Regions from separate parts of the Homo sapiens genome. Here region 2 is linked to region 1. Evidence: promoter capture Hi-C in 16 types of primary human blood cells and fetal thymus (Javierre and others, 2016). All regions are on one chromosome and are shown on one strand. Each heading gives the region's core, a stretch centred on a gene start or on the middle of the fragment in contact. The rest is flanking DNA. Distances are from core to core; before and after follow the strand shown. Region 1 holds the start of SMARCA1 (SNF2 related chromatin remodeling ATPase 1). Region 2 overlaps ZNF280C (zinc finger protein 280C).

What was found. Contacts are between HindIII fragments. The CHiCAGO score rates a contact against its expected background, and 5 or more counts as called.
Region 2: a contact is called between a fragment that was not itself captured here and the fragment with the promoter of SMARCA1 in region 1, in 1 of 17 cell types (monocytes). The highest score is 5.8, in monocytes.

The regions. Positions count from the first base shown.
Region 1 is chrX:129,521,287-129,525,235 of GRCh38, forward strand. It overlaps SMARCA1 (SNF2 related chromatin remodeling ATPase 1), which reads right to left and starts at 2,204. Exons shown (of 25, transcript NM_001282874.2): 1 at 1,911-2,204. The coding sequence starts at 2,084. The HindIII fragment of the contact is 3,805 bases long and covers 1,105-3,949 here.
Region 2 is chrX:130,216,130-130,219,907 of GRCh38, forward strand. All of the region lies in intron 13 of ZNF280C (zinc finger protein 280C), which reads right to left. Among named protein-coding and RNA genes, the nearest start is that of RAB33A, 46 kb to the left of the region's middle. The HindIII fragment of the contact is 5,050 bases long and covers 1-3,778 here.

The sequences.
Region 1 (3,949 bases), core at 954-3,453:
CACTGTCAAAGTACACTAACTGATGGCCATGAAGAAGAGGTTAATCTGCACTTTTAGTATGCAATTTAAAGTGTCAAGGTAGTATGTAATGTATTTCATTTTTTAAGGAAAAATTAAAAATAAAAATGGATATCCAGGAAGTTCCTGACATACAGCACCTCATTTCCCTGTCCTGGGTGGACAAATGAAGTACTGGTAGGGCAATTTCTAATGAGGCAAGAGTTGACAAATATGTAGGCATCAACTCAGTGTTTATATTATATAGCTTTTTTATTGGTCTCCCGTTTTTTCACAATACAAAATTTTATACAAAATTCAAAAATTTATACAATCTGGAAATTCGACAACCTCTCCTGCCATACAAAAGGCAGTTTGGCACTCACATTTGCCCAGTCCAGGGAATAAAAGGCACACAGACATTTCCGAATTTCACAACATTTGATTTATATTGATGCTTGGTATTACACCCACTTTTAACCAACAATATTGTCTTACTAATCCAAGTACCGCGTAGATCTTACAATGTGTATGTTTTCTACGGTTTTCATTTAGCACTACAATTGTCCTTCTGTTTAGTCAACCTTGTAATAGTAAAATATGTCACAGAAGCAACTGCTAAATTTAAAATTACTCTTCTCATTTAAGGCGAAAGGTGTTCATTTTCCTCAAAAGCTTTTCATTTGGTCGTATAGTATCATATAATGATTCAGACAAAGCCACTTGAGATCTCTAAAGCATAATTACCCACCTTTTTAAAATTGCGATATGACTACTCGTAAATAGGAAAAAATCCACACATAAACCATTAGTTATGCAATTTTATCATACATCAAAAATGCTTATGCCCCATCCTATTTTTATGTCAATTTTTCAACGTTTTATAGTTTTATTTGCATGTCTCGGGCCACACGAAATGTGCCTTATGGAGATAATACATATTTTCTGGATTGGCTTTAATATGTGTCAGAGCAGTTCCCTTACGTTAGAAGCAGCTCATCTTGGCGACGCTGAGTTTTTTAAAAATTAAAGGAGAAAAAAAAAAAAAACCTGTGTGTGTCCAGGAGCCAGCAGCGCCCACTAGGAGAGGGAGGCGGAAGCCTGGAAAGCTTGGGGCCGGATTGAGGGACCATTGGGGTGGCCCTGGAGTGAAACCCTATACCGTCGGGGGCGGGGCAGAAGAGGGTGAGGGTGCAGATGTTGGAAATTTTCCTAAGCCAGCGTCCACGGTTCCTCAGTTTGGGGGGGCGGGGGGGTACGACGCAGAGAGCTCCTTTCCTCGGGGTGACACCCCCACCTCGGCAGGCGGGGTTCAAACGAACAAGGGATGGTTTTTTTCCTGCCATCCAAAAGACCGACATTGCCAATGAAAGAAAGAAATGTCTTCCCTGTCACCCTCCACCCAGCAACCACCAGCACCTTGAAATTCAAATTACAAAAAAAGCCCCAGCAAAACCCCTTTAGCGCGAGTGTGGGATTGAAGGGCCCAGATTTCCCAGGCAGAGGCCGACGGGAAGGCGGGGGGAGAGGGAGCGAGCGAGAGGAGAGGGAGAGGCGGAGGCTTTTTCCTGCACAGCCCCATCCCCCACCCCGTTACCCGAGTTCCGGGAAGGTGGAGGGGGTCGGGGGCTGTCGAGGGGCTCCCGAGCCCCCAGGCCCCGGGAGAGCGGGCACCCCTCCACCCCGCGCCGCTCCCGCCCGCGCCCAGCCCCGCCCCCGTCCTCCAGGCGGCGAGAAGGAAAGGGGGAGGGGAGCGAACGCCAGGCGGTTCCGCCGCCGACCCCCGCACCCGCCGCCCCTAGCCCCGCAAAGCTCCGCGGGTACCTGTCGGCGCCGAAAGGTCAGGGTTTGGGCCCCTCAGAGGGGCCAGGCACAGGATTTGTCCACCACACACACACCCCCTTCCTATTTACCTCCTTCTTCTTCTCGCCCTTCTCCGTGGCCGCGGTGGCTTCGGTGGCCGCGGCGGCCGCTCCCTCCTCCTGAGAGGTGGACGGCCCGGGCTGCTCGTCCTCTATGACCACGATAGTGGCGGTCGCATCCGCGGCTGCCACGGTGGCTGCCACTGCGGCAGTGTCCTGCTCCATGCCGTGGGAGCGGGAACGAGTAGGGGGACAAGGCAGGGGACGAGGGCTCCTGGGCGGCGGCAGTGGCTGCACTGGAAAGAGCTAGATGGAGCAGGGGTGGGGAATCACTCCGCTTCCAACCCCTTCGCTCAGGCCCCCCCTTCTTTAAATAACCCTCAACCCTGCCCCACTTCCGTCCACCCACCCTACGTCATGGCCTCCCCCCGTCACTCTCCCCCCTTCCTCCACCCCCCCCCCCTCAACGATCGCGAGACTCCCCTTCCCCACCCAGAGCCCGGGCCGGCCCCGCACGACCAACTGTTGCCTGAGTGTGGGGCGCGGACAGGGGTGGAGGCGGGAACCCACAACTCGCGGCCCCCTGAAAATCTCCTTTCCCACACGCCCCCAACAGTGAGCCTGAGCTCCCCTCGCAGATGCGTGCAGAACGAATCCTCTTTCCCTTAAATCTGCTCTTTGTACCTCGGGGCGCTCTCCCCTTCTTGCACAAAGAACTTTTCCTCTGCTCCTAACTGTACTGTAGAAGGTCTTTTTCACCATTTGCAAAGCGCGGAACCCCTCTGGGACTGCCCTTTCCCGGATCCCTAAAGAGGTAGGATTAGCGGTGCTGTTTCCACCTTCCTAAATTCTGCACAAAGAGAAGCACTCCTTGAATCTCTTGATTGCAGCTGCAAACACATTCACTTACAAGGCAAAGTCTGACTCTCAAGTTTTACGTATATTTGCTCTATTTTCACCTCTGGTACCTCTCAGGTAGCCAATGTGCAGGAACACTTCTCTTACCTTCACCACTGCATTTTTAAATTCCTAGGGGACAAGGTTACCCACCGAACCTGGGGCAACATGTGGTAGGCACTCAATATTAGCAATTGAAATGAATTACTGTGATTTTTTGGCACAGGTTCTATTTGCACCTCCATTATTATTTGGTAATAATACAACACATAATATGAATGATCATGGATATAAAATCATTTCGTGATACAGAATCAATCAGTGTCCATCAGCAGGTGAATGGTTAAGGAAAATGTGGTCTGTATACACAATGGAATACTATGTAGCCATAAAAAAGAATGAAATGTCATTTGCAGCAACATAAATGAAACTGATGTTTATTATGTTGCACAAAATAAGCCAGGCACAGAAAGACAAATAACACATGTTCTCACTCATATGTGGGAGCTAAAAAGTTGATCTCATGGAGGTAGAGAGTAGAATGATAGGTACCAGAAGTCTGGGAAGGGTGTGTGGGGTTGAGGCGGATCAATGAAGAGAGGTCAGTTAATGAGTACAAATATACAGTTAGATGGAAGGAATAAGTTATAATGTTCAAAGTAGAGTAGGGTGACTCTACTGAACAAACAATGCAATGTATATTTCGAAATAGCTAGAAGAGAGGACATGAAATGTTCCCAACACATAGAAATGATAAATACTTGAGGCAATGGACACCCTAAATACCCTGTCTTGAGAAGGACCCTTAAGGACAGCAACAGTGGAGGATTTATTTTTCACCATGTTGCAGCTATTGAAAGATAGAATTCCTCTTTCCTTGCATGGGGCTGCAAAGGAGAAAAGCTCAAGAAATATTTGTTGTGTATTGGTGTGTCCCTGCTTTCAAGTCAGTTTTGTTCCACTGTATTTCTCATTGTCAGTGTACATTATTTCAGTTACATCGTGGGTTAAATGCACTTTTGTGAGGAAATCTGGGAAACACATCCCTTTATAACACCTTTTTTTTGTGGGGACATGTGTTCCATGTTCCAAAAAAAGAATTTAAAAATTTATTTGGGGGCAGAACATATTTGTACGTTGGCAATTTTCCATGCATGTATAATGCAATCCTTCCTTTTCAAGATGACGCGGCT
Region 2 (3,778 bases), core at 1,081-3,580, 690 kb after region 1:
TAGAAAAGTAACCATCGCATTAGTATTAAAAATATCATTGTAAGCCGTAAATATCACATTTACGGTAAACTGGCAAGGGTCCCAAAACATTTCCAATGGGGCAAAAAATAGTCTTGATGAATGCTGCTACAAAAACTGATATCCATGTGCAAAAGAATGAATTTGAACCCTTACCTCATATTATATACAAAAATTATCTCAAAATGTATTAAAGACCAAATTCTAAAAGGTAAAACTATAAAACTCTTAGAAGAAAATACAGTAGTAAATTCTTGTGAGCATGAGTTAGGCAACGGTTTCTTATATATGACACCAAAAGCACAAGCAACCAAAGAGAAAATAGATGAATAGGCATTTCTTCAAAGAAGATATACAAACGGCCAATAAGCACACAAAGAGATGGTCCACGTCATTAGTCACCAGGGAAATGCAAATGAAATCCCAAATGAGATGTCCCTTCACCAACCAGAATGGCTATAATAAACAGACAATAACAAGTATTGGCTAGGACATAGAGAAATGCGAACCCTCATACATTGCTGGTGGGAATGCACAACAGTGTAGTTACAATGAAAAACAGTTTGGCAGGCTGGGTGTGGTGGCTTAGGCCTGTACTCCCTGAACTTTGGGAGGCCGAGGTGGGCGGATCACTTGAGGTAAGGAGTTTGAGACCAGCCTGGCCAACATGGTGAAACTCCATTTCTTTTAAAAATACAAAAAATTAGCCAGGCATGGTGGCAGGTACCTGTAATCCCAGCTACTCGGGAGGCTGAGGCAGGAAAATTGCTTGAACCCAGGAGGCGGAGGTTGCAGTGTGCCAAGATCGCACCACTGCACTCCAGCCTGGGCAACACGGCAAGACTCCGTCTCAAAAACAAAACAAAACAAAAGAACAAAAAAAGAAAAACAGTTTGGCAGTTTCTTAAAATATTAAAGGTAAGAGTTACCATTTGACTCAGCCATTCTACTCAGAGGTATATACCCATGAGAAATGAAAACATACGTTCACACAAAAACCTGTACATGAATTTTTACAGCACCATTATAGCCAAAAAGAGGAAACAACCCATATGCCCACCAATAGATGAAAGGATAAAATGTAGAATATCTATACAGTGGAGTATTACTCAGCCACAAAAAAGAATGAAGTACTGAAACATGGTACAATATCAATGAACCTACAAAACATTATGCTAAGCGAAAGAAACCAGTCCCTAAAGATGGCATATTGTATGACTCAATTTATATGAAACGTCCAGAATAGGAAAATCCATAGACACTAAAAGCAGACTAAAGTTTGCACAGGTCTAATGGAGGGGAAATAGTGAATGCTAAAGGGTATGAGGTTTCTTTTGAGGGTGATAAAAATGTTTTAAAATTTATTGTAGTGATGTTTGCCCAAATCTGAATATACTAAAAACCACTGAACTGTGTACACTGTAAATGGGTAAATTGTGTGATATATGAATTATATCTCAATAACACTGTTACCAAAAAACCACTGCAATACAAAAAGTTAAAATCATTATTTTGAAAATGGCAAGTATAAACTACAATCAGATAAGCCTTCTACTTATTCTAAATGGTCATACTGATTAAATGAAATTTATCTTGATATTTACTTACTGTTGTAATATTAGTTTTATATTGATAACAGTTGTATGTTAACAGATATTAACGAATAATTAGGAGTAAAAATTAGATAAATATCAAAAGAGCACATTCCATAGCTATTTTATGCTTTGATAGAATTAAAAAGGGCTGGGTGTGGTGGCTCATGCCTGTAACCCCAGCACTTTGGGAGGCCAAGGTGGGTGGACTGCCTGAGCTCAGGAGTTTGAGACCAGCCTGGGCAACTCATCTCTACCAAAAATGCAATAAAATTAGCTGGGCATGGTGACATCCGCCTGTGGTCCCAGCTACTTGGGAGGCTGAGGTGGGAGGATCGCTTGAGCCTCGGAGGCAGAGGTTGCAGTAAGCTAAGATGGCACCACTACACTCCAACCTGGGTGACAGAGTGAGACCCCCGTCTCAAAAACAAACAAACAAAAAAACCCAACTAACTAAAAGGCTTTCACAAATAGAGAGGTCAAAATGTAATATAGAGGTCTGAAATAATAACTCTGGAAAGGCCTGCATTACCCTCTGGTAACTATAAAACAGATTTTCAGTAAATGTGACCTCTTCCTGGGGGATCAGGGGGCATGATTTCTGCTTCCAAGGTTATGGTGAGCTTATATCAATTCATCACACAGCATGGTGGTTATAATAATGCTCAGAATTTCCTTAATGGTAACATATAAAATTTATCATTTACTATTTGGAAAAAGAAAATGTTTGTATCTATTGGTTAATAATAGAAAAGTCATCCACTAACATTTTCTTTAATCATTTGATTACACTCCCCCCATGTACTTGAAGAACAGCTTCTATGAAGTCCTATGAAATATATGTGGTATAGAAAAGCACTGAAGCAGAACTTGTTAGCTTGCAAAAAGAAAATACATGTTTTGAAAGCACTAGAGTAGAAGTCAAAAGACCTGAGTTTAAGAATCTTAGTACTACCTCTTCCTAGCTACATGACCTTGAGTAAGGAATTTAGCCTCTCTGAGCCTCTTCATCTCTAATATGGGGATAATACTTGCCTTGTCTATATCACTGGATCACCACATAGGTTAAATAATAAAATGTATGGAAAGGCACACCGAACACTTAATTCTAAAGTGCTATAAGACATATAGTATCATTATTATCAATATTATCATTACTATTGGTATCTTATTAATAAGGGAAGATGTGAGAGAGGATTGTACTGCCTACATTAATATTCTGCATGTCTAATACCAACATGGAACAAATGGATTGCAGGGAAGGATGCCAGATGGTTTATCTTATGCTAGATATTCAGATAATTGTTTTATATTAATTTTGTTAATTTAAATAGCAGACATACTCGCATTCAAAAGCATGTACTCAAAGTGAAATACAAATGTTTAGGGATTATCTCACCTTGGATTATCTATCTCTTTACTGGAGAAAATATTCAAGAGCTAACTTTATGTAAAGAAGTCAGAGGGCCAGGCGTGGTGGCTCATGCCTGTAACCCCACACTCTGGGAGGCCGAGGCGGGCAGATCACTTGAGGCCAGGAGTTTGAGACCAGCCTGGCCATGTTGGCGAAACCCAGTCTCTATTAAAAATACAAACAATTAGCTGGACATCATGCTGCATGCTTGTAATCCCAACTACTTGGGAGACTGAGGCACGAGAATCACTTGAACCCGGGAGGCGGAGGCTGCAGTAAGCTGAGATCGCGCCACTGCACTCCAGCCTGAGGGATAGAGTGAGACTCTGTCTCAAAAAAAAAAAAAAAAAAAAAAAAAAAGTCAGCGAAAACATATGTATATAAGGCAAAGAAGGAGAAAGAAATTTGTAGTCTGATGTGTGCTTGCTCATGAAAAACAGCAATGCTATGCTATCCAGGAGCAAAACTTGCTTCTCTGAGAGTAGATTAGTAATACTAACTTCAACAAACCTATGGCATTCAAGGCACTGTGACAGATGCTGGGGACACAAAGATAAATTAAATATAATTCCTGATCTTAAATATCTTATAGTCTAGCAACTGAAAAAGACATACACACTGACAACTGGAATAGCTCAAAAACAGCCTACAGAACATTGAAACGACCTGCCAACTTAGTCTACAATCTAGTTGCACTAGAAATATCCCTCCAACAAACCACATCAATCAACTAAAAAAAACAATGGTTAGAAGT